2 separate regions of the Homo sapiens genome follow, and region 2 is linked to region 1. The links are contacts of gene promoters, found by promoter capture Hi-C in blood cells and fetal thymus (Javierre and others, 2016). All regions are on one chromosome and are shown on one strand. Each heading gives the region's core, a stretch centred on a gene start or on the middle of the fragment in contact. The rest is flanking DNA. Distances are from core to core; before and after follow the strand shown. Region 1 holds the start of ACSM1 (acyl-CoA synthetase medium chain family member 1). Region 2 has its middle 35 kb from the start of LINC02890.

Region 1 (5,895 bases), core at 2,086-4,585:
TGTCTTAAAGATCTATCCCATATCCGTCTGCTTACCTCCATCTCCAGTGCCATAACTCTTGTCTGAGCCACCGTCATTACTTGTTTAGTCTATTGCAGTAGCCTCCCGACTGGCATCCCCACATCCATTCTTGCCTCCTTAAAATATCTTCTCCACAGAACTGCCAGAGTGGGCTTTCTAAATGCAAATCTGACCTCTTTTTCTGAATGTTTTACTTTCCTGTATTACTTTATTTCAAAATCAAGTCACCAAGAAAATGAGTTACTTAATAGGATCATGTCTCTTTCCTCCTAAAATCTTCACGAGACTTCCATGCACCCACCCATTGCACTTAGAATAGAATCCAAACTCCTTATTATGTCCATAAAGATCCTTAATGGCATGTCTCCTGCTTGTGTCTCTGACCTCACACTTTATCATACTTCTCACTCAGTAATCTGCCATCCCAGTCCCCCACCTATGCCTTGAAAATGTCAGCCTCAGGCTTTGCACTTGCTGTGGCTTTTGCCTGGAGTTCTTTTTCCCTAGCTGGCTGCTTCTCCTCCTTCAGGTCTCAAAATGTCACCTCTTAAGGGAGAACATCCTTAGCCACCTCCCCACACTCTCTCCATCATATTGCCCTGTTCTGTTTTCTTTTTGGCAGTATCACCATTTGAAATCCTCTTGCTTATTTAATTGACTTTTTGCTTATTGGCTTTTGCCTTTCTATCATAGGCATGTAAACCTCTTGAGAGCACCAACCTTGTCTTACATGTTTAAAGCACGCCTAAATGTTCCTTAAATATCCACTGAATGAATGAATGTATCATAGGTTTTCTATAATAAGCAGACGATAGCAAGTTCAAAAAGCTGAGGTTGGTAGGATATTTAGCTACATGAAGTCACTCAGAGAACAAGGCTGATAGAGACTTTGCCATTTTACGATGTCACTATCTCCATATATGGTTTCCAGGAGCATTGAATCAGGGGAAGAGAGTACAGAAAACTCATACCTGCTCTTAAATAAATGCCCTAGGCCAGAAGTGACTTGTAACACTTCCACATGGAGTTTATTGTTCAGAACTAGAGTTTAATGGCCTCACTTTAGCTTTAAGAGAGGTTGGGAAATGAAAGAGGAGCACACATAGAATGTTTGGAGAGTTTTCCTTTGTCCGCTGTATACCTCTTGTTAAAGATGAGAAAATTGAGGAAAAGAGGGATAAGAAATCTGCTCAATGTCACAGAGCTGGTAACTGGTAAAAGCTAGACTCAAGCCCAGGCTGCCTGGTGCCAGAGCCTGTCTTCTTGTCCATGCCTTCATGTTGCAGTTCCACAGGGGAGAACTACTCAGATGCAGAGAGTGTGTCAAGGGCTTTTCCCCCGTCTCCATTCTTTTCCGAAAAGTGGCTGCTCCTTCTCTTTAGTAACAGAGGTTTTTTGGTTAGTTGTTTTGTTTGTTCGTTTCTTTGTTTTTTGGTACTTTGATGCTTTGGGTGTTTAAGGTTTAGCTTACCATGGCCAGTCAACTAGCCCTGCCTTCTCACCTCTCCAGTGACTGGCCACAGAAAGCTAAATATTAAAAACCCAAACTATCCTAGCTTGCCACACGGTCCTGTCAGGAATGTCCTGGGTGTCTCCAGAAATCTTTAGCCATGACTTTGATCAGAAATAATTTCTTCCCAGCTTCAATGAAAATACTGGAGATCCCTCATTCTCTAACAATGCCCCAAAAATGGCTCCAGTAGAAAAGTCATAGTACAAGCCGCTACCTATGACTACCTTGGTTTATCCAATGCAATATCACTATCAACCCTCCATCTAAATGCCTGGTCCAGGTGCTTTACAGGCTTGGTGTCACATAATCCTTTCAATGATCCCATGCAACAAATCTTATTAACAAATCCTGCTTCATTTTACAAATGTCAAGACCAAGCTTTGAAAGGAAAATGGTTCACCCAAGAGCTTTCTTGTGAGTGCCTGAGGTTGGACTTAATTAAGCTCAAGACTTTGGGATTCCAAAGACCCTGCATTTTACCAGGATACCAAATTGTTCCTCTGAGAATCCCAAGTGAATAAAAAGAGCCAACATCGACTATGCCCAGCACCGTGTGCTACATGCTTTTTATAAATTATTTCATCTAGTTCTAACAAACAAATGAAGAAGCAAAGAAAACACCCTGGGAGGTAGGTATTGTTGTTATCATTCCTATTTTACAAATAAGGTAGGTGTTGGGTGCTGTGGCTCATGCCTGTAATCCCAGCACTTTAGGAGGCTGAGGCGGGCAGATCACCTGAGGTCAAGAGCTCAAGACCACCCTGGCCAACATGATGAAACCCTGTCTCTATTAAAAATACAAAAATTAACTGGGTGTGGTGGCGGGCACCTATAATCCCAGCTACTTGGGAGGCTGAGGCAAGAGACTCAATTAAACCTGGGAGGCGGAGGTTGCAGTGAGCCAAGACCATGCCATTGCATTCCAGCCTGGGTGACAGCATGAGATTCTGTCTCAAAAGCAACCGAAAACCAATTAAGGGAGGTGAGGCCCAGAGCAAGAAGGTCCACAAAGATGACATGGAGGTTAAGTGGCAGACCTAAGGCTCAAACTCAGACCTTTCTGCCTCCAGACCTCCAGAGCCCAGGCTCTTATCCATTAGGCTACACTGACTCTCAGCTGTCATTTAAGGGAGACTATGGTGATGTAGGGCTGGGAAGGGGGAGCAGGTTAGCCACAGAGAACTAGTGAAAATGCACCATTGGATCTAGTTCATTCACACCCCTAGCCATGCCACCGGAATTGGAGGTGACTTCGTATACGTGGTTTGTTTTTCTTTTTTTTTTTTTTTTTGAGACAGAGTCTCTGTCTCCCAGGCTGGAGTGCAGTGGCATGATCTCGGCTCACTGCAAGCTCCGCCTCCCGTGTTCACGCCATTCTCCTGCCTCAGCCTCCCGAGTAGCTGGGACTACAGGCGCCCACCACCACACCCGGCTAATTTTTTGTATTTTTAGTAGAGACGGGGTTTCACCGTGTTAGCCAGGATGGTCTCCATCTCCTGACCTCGTGATCCGCCCGCCTCGGCCTCCCAATGTGCTGGGATTACAGGCGCGAGCCACTGCGCCCGGCCCACATGGTTTGTTTTCTAAGTGATTATCTCTCCGTGGAGGCCTGTAATTGTTTCTGTCCTATTTTACCTGAGCATCTCCTCCCCCTACTGAATTACCCAATTCCTAACAAGTTCTCTGTTCAAGGTCCCCCTTCGCTGTGGCCAGAAGCCAAGTTCTGCTGGGTGCACAATCCTGCGGATCACCTGATCAGAGAGAACTGAACCTACAAAAGAGAGCTCAACCTCCTTTTCCATACCTACCAGGGACCTAGTTCAGCTACGTCCTAAACAGTACCAGGTAAGACAGAGGTGAAGGTCAGCTTCTATCTGTGTGTGTGTGTGTGTGTGTGTGTGTGTGTGTGTGTGTGTGTGTGTGTAATCCAATTTTAAGTTCTGGCAATGCTACTTTTAAGTTGAGTGACCTTGGGCAAGTCACTTAACTTCTTGGCACTTCATTTTAGAGGCAAAATGACAATGGTGATATTGGGTGAGAGGAATAAATAGGAACGTACATGTAATATGTTTAGCACAGTGGCTGGCATGTAAATGGGGACTGGTTTAGTGTCAGGCAGCTCTGAATGTGGTGAGCCGTGGGAGACAGGCACAAAGTCAGAGATGAATGTTTGAAGGAAATCTTTTCTATCTATGCAGAAGTTGGCTCACTTTCTATAAAGTGAATGCCTTCTAAAAAAAATTATCCAAGCATAGTAATACATGCCTGTGGTCCCAGGTACTTGAAAGGCTGAGGCAGGAGGATGACTGTAGCCCAGGAGATTGAGGCTGCAGTGAGCTATGATCACACCACTGCACTCCAGTCCAGGTGACAGTTTCAAAAAAAATGGTTAACATCTAATGGGGAGGGGGTTGGCTTCAGAATTTGCTGGGAGTTAAAAGGTACCTCAACATTTATTGAGTCCTTACCGTGCACTTCATTCAGTGCCAGCAAGTAAATTATCACACTAATCCTTATGGGGAGCTGGGAAGAAGGTATTACTACTGTGCGCTTAAGTTCAGAGACATGAACAGCACCAAAGACCCAGCTGCTAGACAACAGAGACAAACATCTAGCCCTGGCTCTGTAACTCTGGGATACCCTATAACACAGTAAGTATGTTGCTTCATTAAATAGCTTTATCAGTCCCAAGTCCTGTGAAGTCAAAGCTTAGTTGCAGGAGCTGTTCAAGGCACTATGTATCTGGGAATACAGTGGGGAGCCCAGCTGCCTCTCAAAGCTACCATGTCAAATTGCTTTCAGAATGCACTTTAAGCAGTTCAGAAAATTGTTCTTTAAAATGATTTCATAGGATGTGCTTTAATGATATGCTCTAACAGGGTAGGAACTCTTTCAGTTTAATTAATCTCCAATAGTATCTAAAACTGTACATGGTACATCTATAGTAAATACTTGAGAAAGAAAAAATACATTTTTCTATAACTCAGATAATTTGTGGGCACACTGGCTTTTCTCTTTCTGACTTTCATCACTCAGTTTTCTGAATTATGACAAAGAAGGGAAGAATCTAACTTTTTGTTGAGCACTTACTATGTCCAGCACGGTGAGAAATAGACAAACTAAGCTTTGTGAAGTCAAATCTGAAGACAGATGTGGATGGAAATAGATATCGAAACAGAGACAGAGACGGAGATAGAGATAGAGACAGAGATAGTGATAGAGATAGAGACATGCATCACTTAACAACCAAGATACGTCTGAGAAATGCATTGTTAGGTGATTTTGTTATTATGGGAACTCATAGAGTGTACTTACACAAACCCACAAAGCATAGTCTTCTACACATATAGGCGATATGCTATAGCCCATTGCTTCTAGGCTACAAACCTATGTAGCTTGTTGCTGTATTAAATACTGTAGGCAGTCATGACACGATGGTAAGTACTTGTGTATTGAAACATAGAAAAGGTACAGTAGAAATATGTCATTATAATTGTATGGGCCACTCTGTATATGTGATCCATCACTGACAATGACATCATATTGTGGCACATGACTACAGTGTACATGTGTTATTGTTATAGACATTAATATTAATGTATAGATATACACAGATAGTGATATAGGTATAAATGTAAATATTGGTATATAGATACAGAAATAGATTTAGAAATGAAGCTTAACATACATACAGAGATAGAGATAGACGCAGACATAGACATATAGATATCTGATTTTCAGTCCTCAACACTTGGAGATCAGGTTCTTATATATCTAGATAGATAGATAGATAGATAGATGATAGATAGATAGAAAATAGGTAATAGGTAGATAGATAGACGATAGATACATAATAGATAGGTAATAGATAGATAAATAGATGATAGATAGATAATAGATAGGTAATAGATAGATAGATAGATAGACAGATAATCAGTGAAAAAGCTGGACATATACCAGTCCTATGGTGTCTATGTTCAGGTATTCATCCCCATTCCTTCTCTTTAGACCTTAACTCCAAAAGTTAAGGAAATTTTTTTCCTCTGGCTTAACTACTCTATAAGAGCTTCCCTATAAAGTGTGTTAACTAGCAACAGCTCTTATTTCTAAAATACTTGTCCGTGCTGAATGCTTTTTGCAGGATATCGTGCATTTATCACCATGGCTTCAGGCAATAGGTGCTGCCAATATGCCTATGTTTTTATAGGGAGGTTAAATAAATTGCCCCAAGTTATGTGGGTGGGAAATGAAAGTGCTGGAATTTGAGCCCGTGTTGTTTGATCTCTAGGGCCATGCTGTTTCAGCTACCACAGTTCTCCACAGCTGGGCACTGTGTTTGGCCCTCTCATGTGACGAAGATT
Region 2 (5,895 bases), core at 1,736-4,235, 2.0 Mb before region 1:
GGAGATTGAGGCTGCAATGAGCTGTGATTGTGCCACTGCACTCCAGCCTGGGCGACAGAATGATACCCTGTCTCAAAAAAATATACACCATGGAATACTATGCAGCCATAAAAAAGAATGAGTTCATGTCCTTTATAGGGACATGGATGAAGCTGGAAACCATCATTCTGAGCAAACTATCGCAAGGACAGAAAACCAAACACCACATGTTCTCACTCATAGGTGGGAATTGAACAATAAGAACACATGGACACAGGGTGGGGAACATCACACATTGGGGCCTGCCAGGGGGTGGGGGGAGCGGGGAGTGATAGCATTAGGAGATATACCTAATGTAAATGACGAGTTAACGGGTACAGCACACCAACATGGCACATGTATACATATGTAACAAACCTGCACATTGTGCACATGTACCCTAGAACTTAAAGTAAAATAAATAAATAAATAGGAAAAAAAAGAAAAAAAAAGAAGGCAAAGAAAAAAATAAAAATAAAATAAAATAAAATAAAGTTCTTTAAACACCATGAAACAGACCTTGACAAGACATGCATATCCCCTTATGCCTACCCCAAGATTTAGGATGTCACACTGTACCTGTCCTTTGCGGTAATTTGTCTTAAGGACACAGGTACAAGTTATCCTGTTTTATATGCACTTTAATGAATTTTCACTTCAAATTCAAGTTGCAGTATATGTCACATGCCGCCTTCCCTTCAAAGTAACTAATGTCAACAATTTACTATGTATTTTTTCCATGTTTTTCCTGAGTTCATGCAAGCATCATACATGAAAACCAGATGAAAGGTTTTCTTTCTTTCTTTTTTTTTTTTTCAGAAATAGGATGATATTACACAAATGTGCTTCTTTACTTAACAAGAAAGTATAGGCATCTCTCCATATACCTGGCTTTTTTCAACAGTTGCATAAAATTCTGAAACATAAAACATTATAATTTATTCAATAAATCCCTGCTTTTGGATATTAATTTTGTTTCCAGATTTTTGCAAGAATCAGGTACTTAAAGTAATAAACATTTTTCTGTGGAATTGGTACTTCCATTTCTGCATGCCAAAAGTGAAATTTCTGAGCATAAGTATATTTTGAATTCCAGTAGCTACTTTCAGATTTTTCTTGAATGGTTAAAGCAATTCTTACTCATAACAGCAAAGTATGAGAGTCCTTTCTTCCTCCATACAATCATAAGTGATGGTAATAAATCATTTCTGTTTGGGTCAAATTGATTAATTTCTAAAGTAATCTATTGTCATTTTTATTTACATTTCCCCTTCCCCGAAAAGAATGAGCATAATTTCATTTGTTTATTGGCTATTTGCATTTCCACTTCTAAAGATTGCCTACTTCTATTCTTTACCTATTTCTGTACTGGATTTTTAAGTCTTTTTCAATTTGCAGAAGTTATTTGTGGATTAGAAAAATTAGCACTGGTTAGATCAACCTAAATACCCTTCAATGAGAGATGGATAAAGAAAATGTGGTACATATACACCCTGGAATACTCTGCAGCCATAAAAAACAAGATTATGTCCCTTGCAGGCACACAGATGGAGCTGGGGGCCATTATCCTTAGCAAACTAACACATGAACAGAAAACTAAATACCACACGTTCTCATAAGTGGGAGCTAAATGATAAGAACACATGGACACATAGAGGGGAAAAACACACACTGGGGCCTTTCAGAGAGTGGAGGGTGGGAGCAGGAGAGGATCCAGAAACATAACTAATAGGTACTAGGCTTAATTCCTGGATGATTAAATAACCTACAGCAAACCCCCATGACACAAGTTTACCTATGTAGCAAACCTGCACTTGTACCCCTGAACTTAAAATAAAAGTTTAAAAAAGAAAAGAAACAGAAAAACTAGCCCTGGCACCCTCCCAACTATTTTTCCTGAAACTATCAAAAAAAAAAAAAAAAAAAAAAAAAGAGGCAGTCTTGTTTCTGGGATCACTGCAATAAAAGCAATGGGAACCTACAGGTGCCAATGCCATATTTGCTGCCATGTAGATAGAGTTTGATAAAAAAGAAAGTAGATACAGAGAAAACGAGTTAGAGTGGGGGAAGAGAAAGAGCTAATGACATCATTTGGACACCTACATACAGCCATACTTGAAGCTGGAAGGGTTTATCCATTAAATTTCTGGGTTACAAGAGCCAATGATTTTCCTTTGGGGTTTGTGCTGGGTTTCTGTCACTTGCAACCAAAATCCTCCCAACTGTGGTGAGTTTGCGTATATTGGGACCACACCCTGATTCTAGAACAAGACCTTTGCATCCATAAGAACTGGACTTTCTAAATGCTGGGTCCAGGTAATATTTGAACTGGTCTCACCATTGTTCCTGGATAGCTCTCTGATTTCCTACTATGAGGCAACCTCTAGAGGATTCTTGGCTCAATAATGCACCAAGCTCATGGGACGAGTTCACAGTGTGTACCTGTTATATTGGTCACAACAAGAATTTGAGTCTCTACAAACCTCATGGCTTACACCACTGTATATTGGCTGGACGCACTTAAATGAGGTCCAGGCCGGAACATGTACAGAAACCCAAGTTATAAATTACAAGTTACTCTGGATAATTTTGGAAAGGGGGTCCTTGAATTCACAGGTCTGCCAGAAAGCCTATGCAGGCCGGATCTCCAAAGGCTCATTTGAAAACACAGTACCTTCCTAAACAGACTTTTATCATAAGGCTTTTTGCCTTTTCTTAAACTATATACCACAGGACTATTCAATAGCGTTGTAAGGGAAAGAAGAAAGTAAATAGAACTGTGCATTAGAAGGCTTTGTAAACTCTTTAGCAGGGGGTAATAGAAGTGCTCGATGTGAAGCTTCTGTTCTGATCAGGTGGAAAGGCAAGACATTGAAATACTAAGAGTTTAAATAAACTTTGAACATACCATCAGAATATTCCAAATAGGATCATTTAGCCATAATACATAGACATCCCCAACTACAACAACAATAATAGGAAGCACTAATATTTACCGAGTACTTGTGTGCCAGCACTAAATGAAACACTTTTTGTTAATTACTTCATTATTCTTCCTCATATAACAACCCAATGAAGTCAGTACCAAAGCTTAGAAGAAACTAAAGCTTATAGAGCTTCTATAAGGCAGGATAAGCTACATGACGCTGAAGTAACAAAAACCTCAACATCTCAATGGCTTAACACAACAAAAGTTTACTTCTTGCTCATGTTGCACAAACAATGCAGGCTGGCAGAGAAGACGCCACCCATCTTGGGCTAATGGGGCTTTTGTCTGAATTGTGTTTCCATGACCACTGCAGCAGGAGGAAGAAAACATGAGAAATTGCACTCTAGTCCATATGGGCGCTTCCAAATGGAACTGACAGATATTGCTTCTTCTTGCATTTCATTGACCAAACGAGTCCCATGCCCACATTTGACTTCAAGGTGAAGAGAGGGGAGGAGTATGATCCAATTCGTGCCCAGAAGTAACAGAATTGGAAATATTTAATTAACAGCATTGAACACAACCGCAGGGCACAAGCTGGTCTGTCCTCTTCTAGAAACAGAGATGTCACAATAACCTTGGAAAATTCAGTTTATCTTTGTGCCATTGCTCCAAGTGAAAACTTTAAAGTTGAAAATCTCTTTGTTTCAATTGCCCACATCATAACAGAAATTCTCTCTCTTTTCCCTCCGGACCCCCATTTCTGTCTGTAACACCTTCCTATAGGAATTATCATCTTTTCACTTTATTATAATAGAATTTGTGGTCTCCTGGGCATAAAACTCTTTAAAGGGACACATTTGAGTCAGGGGGGTTGTGAGGTTTTTTATTTTTTCCTCCAAAGAAAGTTTAAAAACCTTCATTTTGTATTCAGGAATAAATGAGAAGTGGTGTTATTTATAATTGGCTCCCTCTAATTCAGACTAAATATAGATTAATCCTAATTGATAAGACATAAAATTTAATTAAACCTTAATAAAGAACCTGGGAAAGAGTTCTCAATAGATGATATCAATGGTAATGTTGGATGCTGCATGCTGCAGTACTTCAGATAAAACACAATTCGTAGAAGTATTTTCAGGGCTTTGTGCAAGTCAAGATATGGGTCATTATCTCAAACAGAGCATTCATTAAAATTATGGATAAATCTGAGAGATGGTGTTCTCCATACAGCTCACCGATAAGAGCCTGGCCCACAAGAACTCCCAACAATCTCCTCAGCCTGTTGGTCAGGAGGACGCTCAGTTCCTTGACCTTGAAGCCACACTGAGTCACAGAAGTTGCTGTCACAGACTACGGTGTTATCAGATAAACCCCAACCCACCGAATATCCCATTGTAGAAATCCAATTAACAATGCTACATAAACATTACCCTTCTGATTGATGTTCCCAGCACGTAACATTTTTATTTCATGTACTCATGGTATGTTTATGTGTTCAGGAGTGATTGAGAACTTATCTTTCATGGTCAATCAACCTGGTGTCTAATTACTGCAAACATGAATAGAGAGCCCAGGCAGAGGGGAAGATCCAGCTCCCAGGAACGGAACTCCTTCCTTGCAAATGGGAGCATAGACACTCCAGTTCCTAGCAAAGTGTATCAAAGGAAGCAAACCCTGATACCTCCAGGTGTCAGAATTCTAAGAGGAAAGTGAGCTCAGTTGGCACCACAGCAAACTGGAGAGGGTCTGCCTGATCTAAAGAGGGCAACTTTTCTCTACTCTGCCCACAGTTGCCATGAAGGAATGAGGGTCCAATGATGGCAAATCATTTCACTCTTCTTTAAAATTTGTGTATTTGGATTGTAATCGGAAACAAAACCACGTTTTTAAATGGGAAGAAAAGACTTTTTTCAACAAAGTTTTTTTAAAAAACTTATTCCAACAAAGTTTTTTTAAAAAACTTATTCCTTCCCTTTGGTTATTCCTTCCCTTTGGTTCATTTTCCCCTTTAACAAATACTTAATGAATGCTTAATATGTCCCAGGCATTGTTGTAGGCACTGGAGATAGAACAATGAAGAAAACAAAGATCCCTGTCTTTAGGAAGCCTATATTCTAGAAGAGGGAGATTGACCATAAGCAATAAACATGATAAGTAAAGCATATGGTATGTTAAATGGGAGAGGTGCTAAGAAAAGACAGAAAAAGCACAGTGGGCAGGGAACTGGAAATCATGCAGGGGTTGCCTACTGATATTTAGACACAGTGGTCATACAGAAGGTGACGTTGGAAAACAGATTTGTAGAAGAAGAGGAAATTAGCCAGGCAAATATCTAGGAAAAGAGCATTGGAAGAAGGAATGGCCAGTGCAAAGTCCCCAAAGTAGAAATGTACCCAGTGTGTTCAAGAAACAGTAAATAAACTAGGTGGCTGAAATGAACTGAATGAGGGAGAGACTGGCAGGAGGTGAGAAGAGAGAGGCATCAGGGAGGGAGCAGAGCACGTGGGGCTTCCTAGGTCATTGGAATGACTTTGGTTTTTACTCTGGGGTAGTTGCAGAACCATTGGAGTGTTTTGAGTGCAGAAGAGACACAGACAGACTTGTATTTTTACCGGGATCCCTCTGGCTACTATGTTGAAAGAAGCCTGTAGGGATCAAGGATGGAGAGGCAGGGAGACCAGCTAGGAGGCTGTAGCAGCATCTAGGAGAGAGACAACAGTGGCTCAGACAAGAGTGAGGCGTTAAGAAGGCAATGGAGGTGTTAAGAAGTAGCTAGATTCTGGAATATCCAGAATCTATAAGGGACTTAAACAAATTAACAAGCAAAAAACAAACAACTCCGTTAAAAAATAGCCAAAGGTCATGGACAGACACTTCTCAAAAGAAGACATGTATGTGGACAACAAGCATATGAAAATAATGCTTAATATCACTGATCAGAGAAA

Evidence for each region. Contacts are between HindIII fragments. The CHiCAGO score rates a contact against its expected background, and 5 or more counts as called.
Region 2: a fragment that was not itself captured here is called in contact with the fragment with the promoter of ACSM1 in region 1 in 2 of 17 cell types (total CD4 T cells and total CD8 T cells); the score reaches 9.1 in total CD4 T cells.

What each region holds. Positions count from the first base shown.
Region 1 is chr16:20,695,120-20,701,014 of GRCh38, reverse strand. ACSM1 (acyl-CoA synthetase medium chain family member 1) reads left to right here and starts at 3,335. Exons shown (of 14, transcript NM_001318890.3): 1 at 3,335-3,379. It also overlaps a transcript of ACSM3 not described here. The HindIII fragment of the contact is 2,330 bases long and covers 1,915-4,244 here.
Region 2 is chr16:22,645,670-22,651,564 of GRCh38, reverse strand. No RefSeq gene overlaps it. Among named protein-coding and RNA genes, the nearest start is that of LINC02890, 35 kb to the right of the region's middle. The HindIII fragment of the contact is 251 bases long and covers 2,860-3,110 here.